Regions from separate parts of the Homo sapiens genome. Here all the other regions are linked to region 1. Evidence: promoter capture Hi-C in 16 types of primary human blood cells and fetal thymus (Javierre and others, 2016). All regions are on one chromosome and are shown on one strand. The core of a region is centred on a gene start or on the middle of the fragment in contact, and the rest is flanking DNA. Distances in the headings are between cores, read along the strand shown. Region 1 holds the start of XRN1 (5'-3' exoribonuclease 1). Region 2 overlaps RASA2 (RAS p21 protein activator 2). Region 3 overlaps U2SURP (U2 snRNP associated SURP domain containing).

Evidence for each region. The method cuts DNA at HindIII sites, captures the fragments that hold promoters and counts their contacts. A CHiCAGO score of 5 or more calls a contact.
Region 2: a fragment that was not itself captured here is called in contact with the fragment with the promoter of XRN1 in region 1 in 1 of 17 cell types (fetal thymus); the score reaches 7.3 in fetal thymus.
Region 3: a contact is called between a fragment that was not itself captured here and the fragment with the promoter of XRN1 in region 1, in 1 of 17 cell types (naive CD8 T cells). The highest score is 6.2, in naive CD8 T cells.

What each region holds. Positions count from the first base shown.
Region 1 is chr3:142,446,163-142,449,528 of GRCh38, forward strand. XRN1 (5'-3' exoribonuclease 1) reads right to left here and starts at 1,875. Exons shown (of 41, transcript NM_001282857.2): 1 at 1,708-1,875. The coding sequence starts at 1,782. It overlaps ATR (ATR checkpoint kinase), which reads right to left. Exons shown (of 47, transcript NM_001184.4): 47 at 3,073-3,366. The coding sequence ends at 3,267. RefSeq lists enhancers at 1-60, 1,593-1,872. The HindIII fragment of the contact is 7,800 bases long and covers 816-3,366 here.
Region 2 is chr3:141,497,385-141,500,750 of GRCh38, forward strand. All of the region lies in intron 1 of RASA2 (RAS p21 protein activator 2), which reads left to right. Among named protein-coding and RNA genes, the nearest start is that of RASA2, 12 kb to the left of the region's middle. The HindIII fragment of the contact is 278 bases long and covers 1,453-1,730 here.
Region 3 is chr3:143,030,624-143,033,989 of GRCh38, forward strand. It overlaps U2SURP (U2 snRNP associated SURP domain containing), which reads left to right. Exons shown (of 28, transcript NM_001080415.2): 17 at 2,161-2,323; 18 at 2,648-2,727. Among named protein-coding and RNA genes, the nearest start is that of U2SURP, 31 kb to the left of the region's middle. The HindIII fragment of the contact is 4,237 bases long and covers 1-3,366 here.

The DNA.
Region 1 (3,366 bases), core at 625-3,124:
GCTACTGAGGCCACACCACTGACTTCCCGTAACTTACTTCTTCTCCCTATCCTTCCCGCCCAGGACTAGCTTTTGAATGCCTGTGACTTATTTAGGCATTACCATCTTTAAGTTCTACTTAACAGAGAAGCTGATAACCTTTGGTCTCTTTTTAATCAAACATTTTTGAAAGGTATCACAACAATGAACCAAATTTTAAAATTTATTTACAGTGAAATTTAAAAATAATTCTCCTCCCAGTTTCTATATAAAGCTTTCACAAAACCTATCCTTAGTGTCCATGTCATAAAACTGCATTAAAGAGATTTTCATTCTTCAGTAACAAAATTCCTCAGGATGGAGAGAATCTAAGATATTTTCACCAAACCAAATTCTGTGCCACAGACTACAGAATAAAAATATTACTGAACAAATTATGTATTAAATCATCACGAATAACAATCGCATTATTTTTGCACTTTAGAGATAAAGTGACTGATATATAGCAGGTACTGACTGAAGGATGCAAGAAAAGCCAAAGTTGGTTGTCTCCATTTCTGCAATGTACTGGTTTCCTTTTTAGCCCTCCCCGGGGGAAAAAAATACCTCTCTAAACCTAACTCAATCTATGTTTCAAATAAATTCAAGATAAGCTAACCTTGGAAACTTTTTGTAGTCTATTTCTCATCTACCAAATCTGATTGGAATCCAGCAACAAAAACTCCTTTCCAGAAGTAAACTACCTTCATGTTCGTAAATGCCGATTAAACCATAATTTAATAGGCTATTTACAATACTACCCATCACAACTGATTCAATCAGCTACACAAATTTCAAGCTTTTTTTCTGTAAAGCATCAGAAAAGAGATCAAATTCATTAAATGTGACAAACACCAAAGTATCACCCAAAGTCTAGTTTACCTAATAGACGACTGCTTTCTCCTCTCTTTCCACAGTTCCAATATATAAACTACGTTTTCGGAATCTACACATTAACGTTGTCCTGGGGTCAGTACATGCCAAATATTATTAGTAGTATTAATGTTCTATCAATTCGTTTCCCAACCCCCTCTGTCACACAGTGAGGCCTCCAAATAAAAGGTCCTACGCCCCACTCCCCAGCTGGCCCAAGAGTTTTTTGTTTTGGCAACAGGGGATTGGTGCTGCTTTTGAAATAACAGAAAGTAACAAAAGGCATCACCAATATGACCATCAGCCACGTCGGAAAGTCTAGGCTCCGGGGGCCGGGTGGGCCGCGCTCTAGATCAGGGAAAGTAAACAAGGTGACTGCGTGCGGAAGCGGCTGTTATCGTCTGTAAGTGGGTCTGCCGCTCTGGGTGGGATGGGGGAACCTACGAGGACACCCACTCCAGCTTCGCAGCCTCTGTAAGGAAAAAGGCAACTTGCAGCTCCCCGGGAGGAAACCGGAGAACAGTAAAAGCGTTCTTTCCCAGGACTTCATTTCGGAGTCGCGGAAGGACCAGCAGAAGCAAGAGCTGTCAGAGAAGCCGTGAACCCAGCGGCTCTGTCCACACACAGGCAACCTGCGTCCTTAGCCCCTTTCGGCTCATCCGGGCGTCCTCAAACCTTCCGTCCCCCTCCCTAATGCCACTAATCGTCCAGACGACGAGGGGAAAGAGGTGGCTCGAAAGCCCCAGCTCTAAGGTGGAGAGGGCCGCGGAGCCCCGGGTCCTCGGCTTTCTGAGCCGTTGCCCCTCGCTCACCCACCTGATGCTCTTTCACCACTTCGCTGAGACAGGGATACCGCTCTGAGATCCATCTGTAAAACTTGGGGACTCCCATTTCGATCGTCAACACTAATCCCAGTCAGGGCCAAACCGAAACCAAACGCCCCGCCGGGGCTCCGCCGCAGCCTCCGGTCGTCGCTCCGCGGATGACAACACACCGCCCGGCCGACCATAGAGAGCGCCCGGCGGGCCTAGAGCGGCAGGATCCGAGGCCGTCCGAGGGGCGGGGCTTAGCCCTCCGGGCCTCGCGCGGCCGGGGCCGCGGTACTGTCCAGTGGCGGTCAGGGAATCTGCGGAGGTTTGCTGGTGTGTTGCAACTTAGGGGCGAAAATGCCCCATGATAGAGTTGTGCTTTCTAAGTGGATTTGGAAGTGGCATGAAAACCGTACGAAGGTGTGGGAAGGGTATCGAACACTGATTTTTGTTCCGCTTGTCTCCTAGGGTTGCTAATCTCAGTATTTTTCATTCAGATTTCGAAAGATCTGGTGATTTACTTGGCTTAGTTTGTTGTTTTGTCAATAATTTTTTTTCTCTGAGGAATTTAAACTTACGTTTCTTAATACATACGTTTAAAAACGTTCTTTTCCAAATTGTTCAAAAAAATTTCCCATGTACCCGCCCCCCGCAACTGTTAACATAAGACCTTGGATACGAAATCATTTAATGTTTAGTTTTGACATTCTTGCATCCGGGTTTATCATATTTTTCCCCATCACACTTTCAACCGCACAGCAAAGGAGAGTTCTATCAACTTAAGTGAAATTATCAGTTTTAAATGTAAGAGTTTTCCACTTATTTGAATGTATTAACCCGTTACTTTGTATTTAAGTCTTCTGGATGAAAACTTACAGAAAAACCTTAAACATTTAATACTTTTTGGATTTTAAGATCTCAGGAAATGTTAAGTATCGCTGTCTTTCATGACCACTGGATTCTGCATTCTGGGACTGCAGTATGGCAGCATCACACAAATTACAGAATGTTTATTTCGTTTTCACATTCACGCTTCTTGGCTTATATTTTTTCCCTATCACACTTTAAAACAAAGTTTTATTAAGTGAACTTAATGATATGCTATTTATATTTATATATCTCTCTTACTAGACTGTCACTTCCTGGAGGGCAGGAGAGGGTAGCTCTATGCACAAGTCTGGCACAACGCCTTGCCCACAGTATTTATTCCATATAATTTTGTTCTTCAAGTGAATCCTTACAATAGCTAGGACTTTTAAAAGGAAATCAATAGAAGTTGTAAAATGAAATTAGACTTGCTTGTTTCTTGCAAATATAGTTTTTGACCATAAGAACACATGATATTCTATTTCTCCAATTATAATGCACAGTATGTATTAAGAAAGCAGTTTATTTCTTAATAACTGAATGTATATTATTTTACATATAATTAATGATCAGAGAGAAATAACAGTTGCTGAGAACGTAAATTTATGTTGTACTTTAGAATTGAACAGATACAACCACAGATTCATACCAAATGCATTACTTTTAGATTATTAACATATTCTTTTACATAATTTCATTTCACATATATGGAGTCCAACCAAGATACATCTGGCATAGTAAGTTTTCATCAGTAGCTTCCTGTATAAGGTAATGCACATGTCCTTCAATAGATAACGGC
Region 2 (3,366 bases), core at 342-2,841, 950 kb before region 1:
TTATATATTATATTATCAAAAGTAACTATTTATATAAATGAACTTGATACAGTATTAATCTTAAGCTGTGCCAGTCTCTGTTGCTCTACTTTGGAAGACTATCCTATCTGCAAAACAAGAGTAATCAAATGTTAGGTTTTGTAACATTTTGAGTGCTATAGAAGAAATAAAGTCAACTTTTCTGTTAAGTTTTTTTGGTAACTTTTGATATAATTTCAAACTTACAAATTGTAAGAATAGGCTGAGGAGGGTGGATGGCTTGAGCTCAGGAGTTTGAGACCAGCCTGGGCCACATGGCAAAACTCCGTTTCTACAAACGAAAAAAAAAAAAAAATGCCAGGCATAGTGGTGTGTGTCTTCAGCCCTAGCTATTAATACTTGGAATGCTGAGGCCAGAGAATCACTTGAGCCCAGGAGGTTGAGGCTGCGGTGAGCTGAGGTCGCACCACTGCACTCCAGCCTGGGTGACAAAGTGAGACCCTGTCTCAAAAAAAAAAAAAAAGTAGAAATAATACAGCAAATTCTTATATACTTTGCCTGTTTGACTAATTGTTTATGTTAGAAAAACTTTTTAAAATTTTAATACATTGTTTCAGAGAAATGTGGTAAAAAGGGTCTGAAAATTTTGGATCCTTTAAAATATGACATTTGTGTGAGTGGTACAGAATTTTAGTTTTGAATTTTACAGTTTTATATAAAATATTCTTGGTAGATGGGGTGAACTAATGTTTATTGAGTATTTCCTGGTTTCCAGATGTTGTGTTAGGATACTTTGCAAAATATTTCATGTAATCCAATTTCATGAAGAAGATTGTTATTCCTATTTTAGAGAAGAAGCAACAGACAGAGGTTATTTGCTCAGGATTGTAAGGGAGCAGAGCCAAGTTTTCAGAAAGTCTTTATGTTACCAAAGCCCACATCCCTTTCTCTACAAAGCTGCCTGTGAGATGATATATTGGAAGGAATTGATGAATACATTTATGTTGTCAAGAAGTTGATAATTACTCCTAAATTGGCTATGGTCTAATGTAGTGGATATTCAATAAAATTATGATGTTTGAATGCCATAAGAATTTATCTTCTGGCCTGTTTTGGGGGTTCATGAATGTAATTATTTTAGCTGCCTAACTGCTTATGTGGGTTTGTATGTACTTTTGAGTGGTTCTTGGATATGTGTACACACATACATACACACACACAGATATACACATACACACCTTTATATGCTCATGGGTGTAACTTCTTTATGTGTCTAGGTGTCTTTTTTTTGTGGAGGGGGGGCGAAGATCAATATGAATCCTATTTTGGCCCCCTGGATGCTGTCACCAGAAATAACAGCCATATCCCATATATAGCCTGTCCATGTAGCCCTGAGTTCTGCCAGCACCTGGCTTTTTGCCTTCCTTTTGTTTGTCATACCAGGCTCTCTTGGTCACCTTGGTAGCCTTGCTAAGCTTCTTGTAGCTATAGGTACCATTGGCTTAGCCCAGAAGAGATTCCTGCCATATGTACTTCAGAGTTTGGTTTGCCACTTGAGGAAGGGGTCTGTAGGGAGCTTGTAGATCAGCACACATTCAAAACTGAAACCGGAAGTGGGCAAGGCAAACCACAGGAAGATCCTGCCCGCAACTTGGTGACGTATCTATATAACCCATAGACACTTCCTGGCAATACCTTGTGAAACTTGCCTTTTCGTGTATAGTAGTTTCCTAACTTCTTGTTCTAGATTAAGCTTCAGTGAAAAGTGATTAATATGATAGCAGTGTAGATAACTGTATGATAGTTATTGTGCACATGACTTCCATGCAGCAACTAGCCCCGATTATGTTCTGTAGACTTTATCACTGAGGAGTTGCAGTGGTATTTATGCGTTTACTTTGACTTTGTCTTGTCACTAGCCATTGTCTTACTTATGTGTAATTGTACTTATATATAGTTCAGGTTTTATACCCACAAAAACCCTTGTGATATAATACCACTATACAGGATTGCCTTATTTATGTGGAATTGTACTTATATATAGTTCAGGTTTTATAGCCACACACACACACACGAAAAAACAGTTCTTTGCTTCACTGAGTCTCGGCTAGCCACCCAAACTGTGTCATATTCCTAGAGTCCTGTGCCCACTCAAGTGTTTGCTCACTGGTACTACCTCATTTTATCATAGTGCCTTGTTCTTAGGCAGAACCAGATTTCTGGTAGGAGTTATTTAATGTGTTGATTTTTTTTTTGAGACGGAGTCTCCCTCTGTCACCAGGCTGGAGTGCAGTGGTGCGATCTCAGCTCACTGCAACCTCCACCTCCCAGGTTCGACAATTCTCCTGCCTCAGCCTCCCGATTAGCTGGGACTGCAGGTGCACGCCACCACATCCAGCTAATTTTTGTGTTTTTAGTAGAGGCGGCATTTCGCCATGTTAGCCAGGATGGTCTCGATCTCCTGACCCGCCCACCTCGGCCTCCCAAAGTGCTGGGATTACAGGCATGAGCCACCGTGCCTGGCCAATGTGTTGTTTTTTTAAAGATTACCAATCGAGTGGGATTATAGACTCTTGGATTATTTTACAGATACAAGTCATTTGCCAGGAGTGAGGAAAATTGCTTGACAACTGAGTTATCTCACCATGTTAATTTATGCATTGGAAAACTCTGCTTAGTGGTAGATATTCCAGCAGTCACCATATGCCTATTGGTACTATTTCTCATTCTCTGTCTGATTAATGTCACAAATGTGTAACTTTCCAGTGGTGTTTTCAAGATGACAGTTAAGGAGCCACTAAGGAAGGAAATAACAGCTACATAACTTTTTTCTTTTCAGTAGTTCTTGACAGTCCCCCCTCCTTTTTTTGTTTTTGTTTCTTCATACCCTGCAGCAATCTGATGTACTCTGAAGGGGGTAAATTTGAGACTCTTTGGAAGGTCATGTGTGATAAAGACAGTTCTTCTCTTCCTTTCTCCATTCAGAACTGTTAAAGATAAATCAATGGGAGTGTTTTTTTCTTGTGTAAGATTTATTATATACAAAATATTTTTTAAGTGTGTGAAAACTGATTAAATGATAAAGGCTAAGGTAGCATGTTTAAAGCATGGTTTTCTGCTACTTTTCTACTAATCACTTAACCTCTCTGAGCCTCAGCTTCCTTGTCTACAAATTAGGAATAGTAGTTTTACTAATCATATAGCATAGTTGTGAAAAGGTTAAATGACTCGGTATACTGCCTGGCATTTTGTGCTCAGTTAAGTGTTGGTTCTAACATGAGCAGTAGTGATACTCATAAAGTATCTTTTCATAGTTTTCTTAATGGATAACTTATTTGATAGAAATGTACTGGAGTATTCATACTTACATGTATATCCAGTTCTTGT
Region 3 (3,366 bases), core at 489-2,988, 580 kb after region 1:
CTTTTAGTCTTATTATTTAAGAAATATATTTCATAAGGCTGTGGCTGCCATAGATAGTGATTCCTCCAGTGGGTCTGGGAAAAAGTCAGAAACCTTGTGGAAAGCATTTATCATTCCAAATGCCATTAAGAACATTTGTGGGCCAGGTGTGGTGGCTCACACCTGTAATCCCAGCACTATGGGAGGCCGAGGCAGGAGGATAGCATGAGGCCAAGAGTTCAAGACCAGCCTGAGCAATATAGTGAGACCCCATTTCTATTAAAAAGAAATTTAAAAAAATCTTAAAAATCCGTTTCAGTTTTTTTGCCTATAAAAATCGACATTAACAGGAGCTTGGAAGAAGTTAGTCCCTCATAGATGACTTTGAGGGATTTAAGACTTCAGTAGAGGAAGTAACTCCAGATATGGTAGAAATAGCAAGGGAACTAGAATTAGAAGTAGAGCTCAAAGATGGGACTGAATTGCTGTGATCTCATGATAAAACTTTAATAAATGAGGAGTTGCTTCTTAGGGATGAGCAAATTAAGTGGTTTCTTGAGATGGAATGTATTTCTGATGAAGAAGCTGTGAACATTGTTGAAATGAAAGGATCTAGAATATATATAAAGTTAGTTGATAAAGTAGTACAGGGTTTGAGAGGATTGACTACAGTTTGGCAAGACATTCTCCTCTGGGTAAAATGTTAACAAACAACAACTCATGCTGCAGAGAAATCCCCTGTGATGAGAAATGTCAGTTGATGCGGTAAACTTTATTGTTTAAGAAATTGCTGCAGCCACCCCAACCTTCAGCTACCACCGCCCTAACCTTCAGCTACCACCACCCTAACCTTCAGCTACCACCACCCTGATCAGTTGGCCATCAACATTGAGGCAAAACCTTCCACCAGCAAAAATGCTATGACTCACTGAGAGTTCAGATGATTGTTAGCATTTTTAACAAGAAAGTATTTTTAAAGTAATGTGTACATTGTTTTTTTAGACATACTGCTATTGCATACTTAATAGACTACAATATGGTATAAACATAACTTTTACATGCACTGGGAAATCAAAAAACTTATGTGATTGGCTATATTGTGATATTTGCTTTATTGCAGTAGTCTGTAACTGAATCCGTCTCTTTGAGATATGCCTGTATGTACTTCACTGCAGTCTATAAATCTTAATACTTGTTGCATTGATTCATTGCCTATGAGAGCATTTGGCAATGGAGTGTGATACTGTTTGAGTGTATTTACTTCTGAAGATGTATGTTCATAATCACTGTAATCCTAGGATCTGCAAACTCAGCTCATAGGCTAAATATGGCTGCCTCCTGTTTTGGAAAATAAAGTTTTACTGGAATACAGTCAATTCCCTTCCCTACATGTTGTCTGGCTGCTTTGGTGCTATGCCAGCAGGGGGATAGAGATCATATGGCCTGCAAAGCCTAAAATATTTGTAATCTTTTTTTTTTTTTTCCCCTGAGATGGAGTGTTGCTGTGTCACCCAGGCTGGCATGCAGTGGCACGATCTTGGCTCACTGCAACCTCTGCCTCCCAGGTTCAAGCAATTCTTCTGCCTCAGCCTCCCGAGTAGCTGGCATTATAGGTGCCTGCCACTGCACTTGGCTAATTTTTATATTTTTAGTACAGACAGGGTTTCACCATGTTGGCCAGGATGGTCTTGATCTCTTGACCTTGTGATCCGCCTACCTTGGCCTCCCAGAGTGCTGGGATTACAGGCATGAGCCACCGCACCCAGCCAGTCTTTTCCTTTACAGAAAAAATTAGCCTGTCGTAATCCCAGGCAGAAGTGTTAAAGTAATAGACTTCCTTCAAAGAAGGGGAGTAAAGAACATGAAAGTTCTTCAGTATCATGGGATGGTAAGACTGGGGTGCTCTTAAAGACGCTTGAAGAAATGCGTATGATTTTAAATTTACTTAATTTGTAAGCTGAAAACATAATTGGAATCTTATTCTACAGAGTATTCTTATATAAATTCTTCAAAAAATTGTAACAATTTTGGGGGACACAACACAAATCAGACTGAATGTATTACAGTCTTCAGAATTATTTTATGTGAGTAGGTTTTAAAGAAATTAGTTTGTGAGCAAAAGCTACAATGGCATTTGAAATTGTATCTAAATATTTATAAGTTAAAACAATTTATGTTCAGACAGAGGGATAAATTGGAAGAAATCTTGCGGGGATTAACTCCAAGGAAAAATGATATTGGAGATGCAATGGTTTTCTGTCTTAATAATGCTGAAGCTGCTGAAGAAATAGTGGATTGCATTACTGAGTCGTTGTCCATCTTAAAGACACCCCTTCCTAAAAAGGTATGGGAATGAATTTTAAGAAAAGGGGAGATAGTTGACGTCTTTTGGGATTAGAATTGGTTTCCTTTTTGCACAAAGCACTTGACTGATGAGATTTTTCCCATGCAGTCTTATGTTATTTCTGCTTGGAAATTTAGGTTCATTAACATACAAGTTAACAAACAAGTTGAAATGTAAATGGGTTAACAAATTTCATCTCTGCCAGAGTCATAGTTGTGGTGATACTGAGCTTCATATAACTCTTCTAATTAGTAGCCATAATTAAATTATAGCTAAACATTAGCCTTATATTAACCTATTTTGTGTTATCTTTTGATATTATAGATTGCCAGATTATATTTGGTTTCTGATGTTTTGTACAACTCTTCAGCCAAAGTTGCTAATGCTTCATATTATAGAAAATTGTAAGTATAATGATATAACTGATATTCCTGAAATAAAGTATTTAAGGGTAAGGAGTTCAGAAAAGAGGATTGTTTTGTTAACATCCTGCAAGAATAAGAAGTACAGTCAGCCCTCCATGTCTGTGGGTTCCTTATCCATGAATTCAACCAACCATGAATTGAAAATATTTGAGAAGAAAAATTGTATCTGTACCGAACCTGTACAGACTTTTTTCCTTGTCATTTTCTAAACAATATAGTATGAAAACTCTACATAGCATTTACATTGTATTAGGTATTGTAAGTAACCTAGAGATGATTTAACAGATGGGAGGATGAGGATAGGTTACAGGTGAATATTATGCCATTTTCAATCAGGAACTTGAGCATCTGTGGATTTTGGTGTCCATGGGAGGTCTTGGAACCAGTCCCCCCATGGATACTGAGGGAAGACTAATTTGAATTTCTTAATGGTTTGTAGAATTTTTTAAAAAATTGGCTTACACTTAAGCTAAATTACCAATTTTTTGGAAAGATTTTATATCATATCACTTTCTTAGCTATTGACAGTATAACAAATAGGTGTTAAAGAGAACTTTATTGCATATCTAGCTATTCATATAATAAATAGAAACAGTGTATATACTGGCAAACATAAGA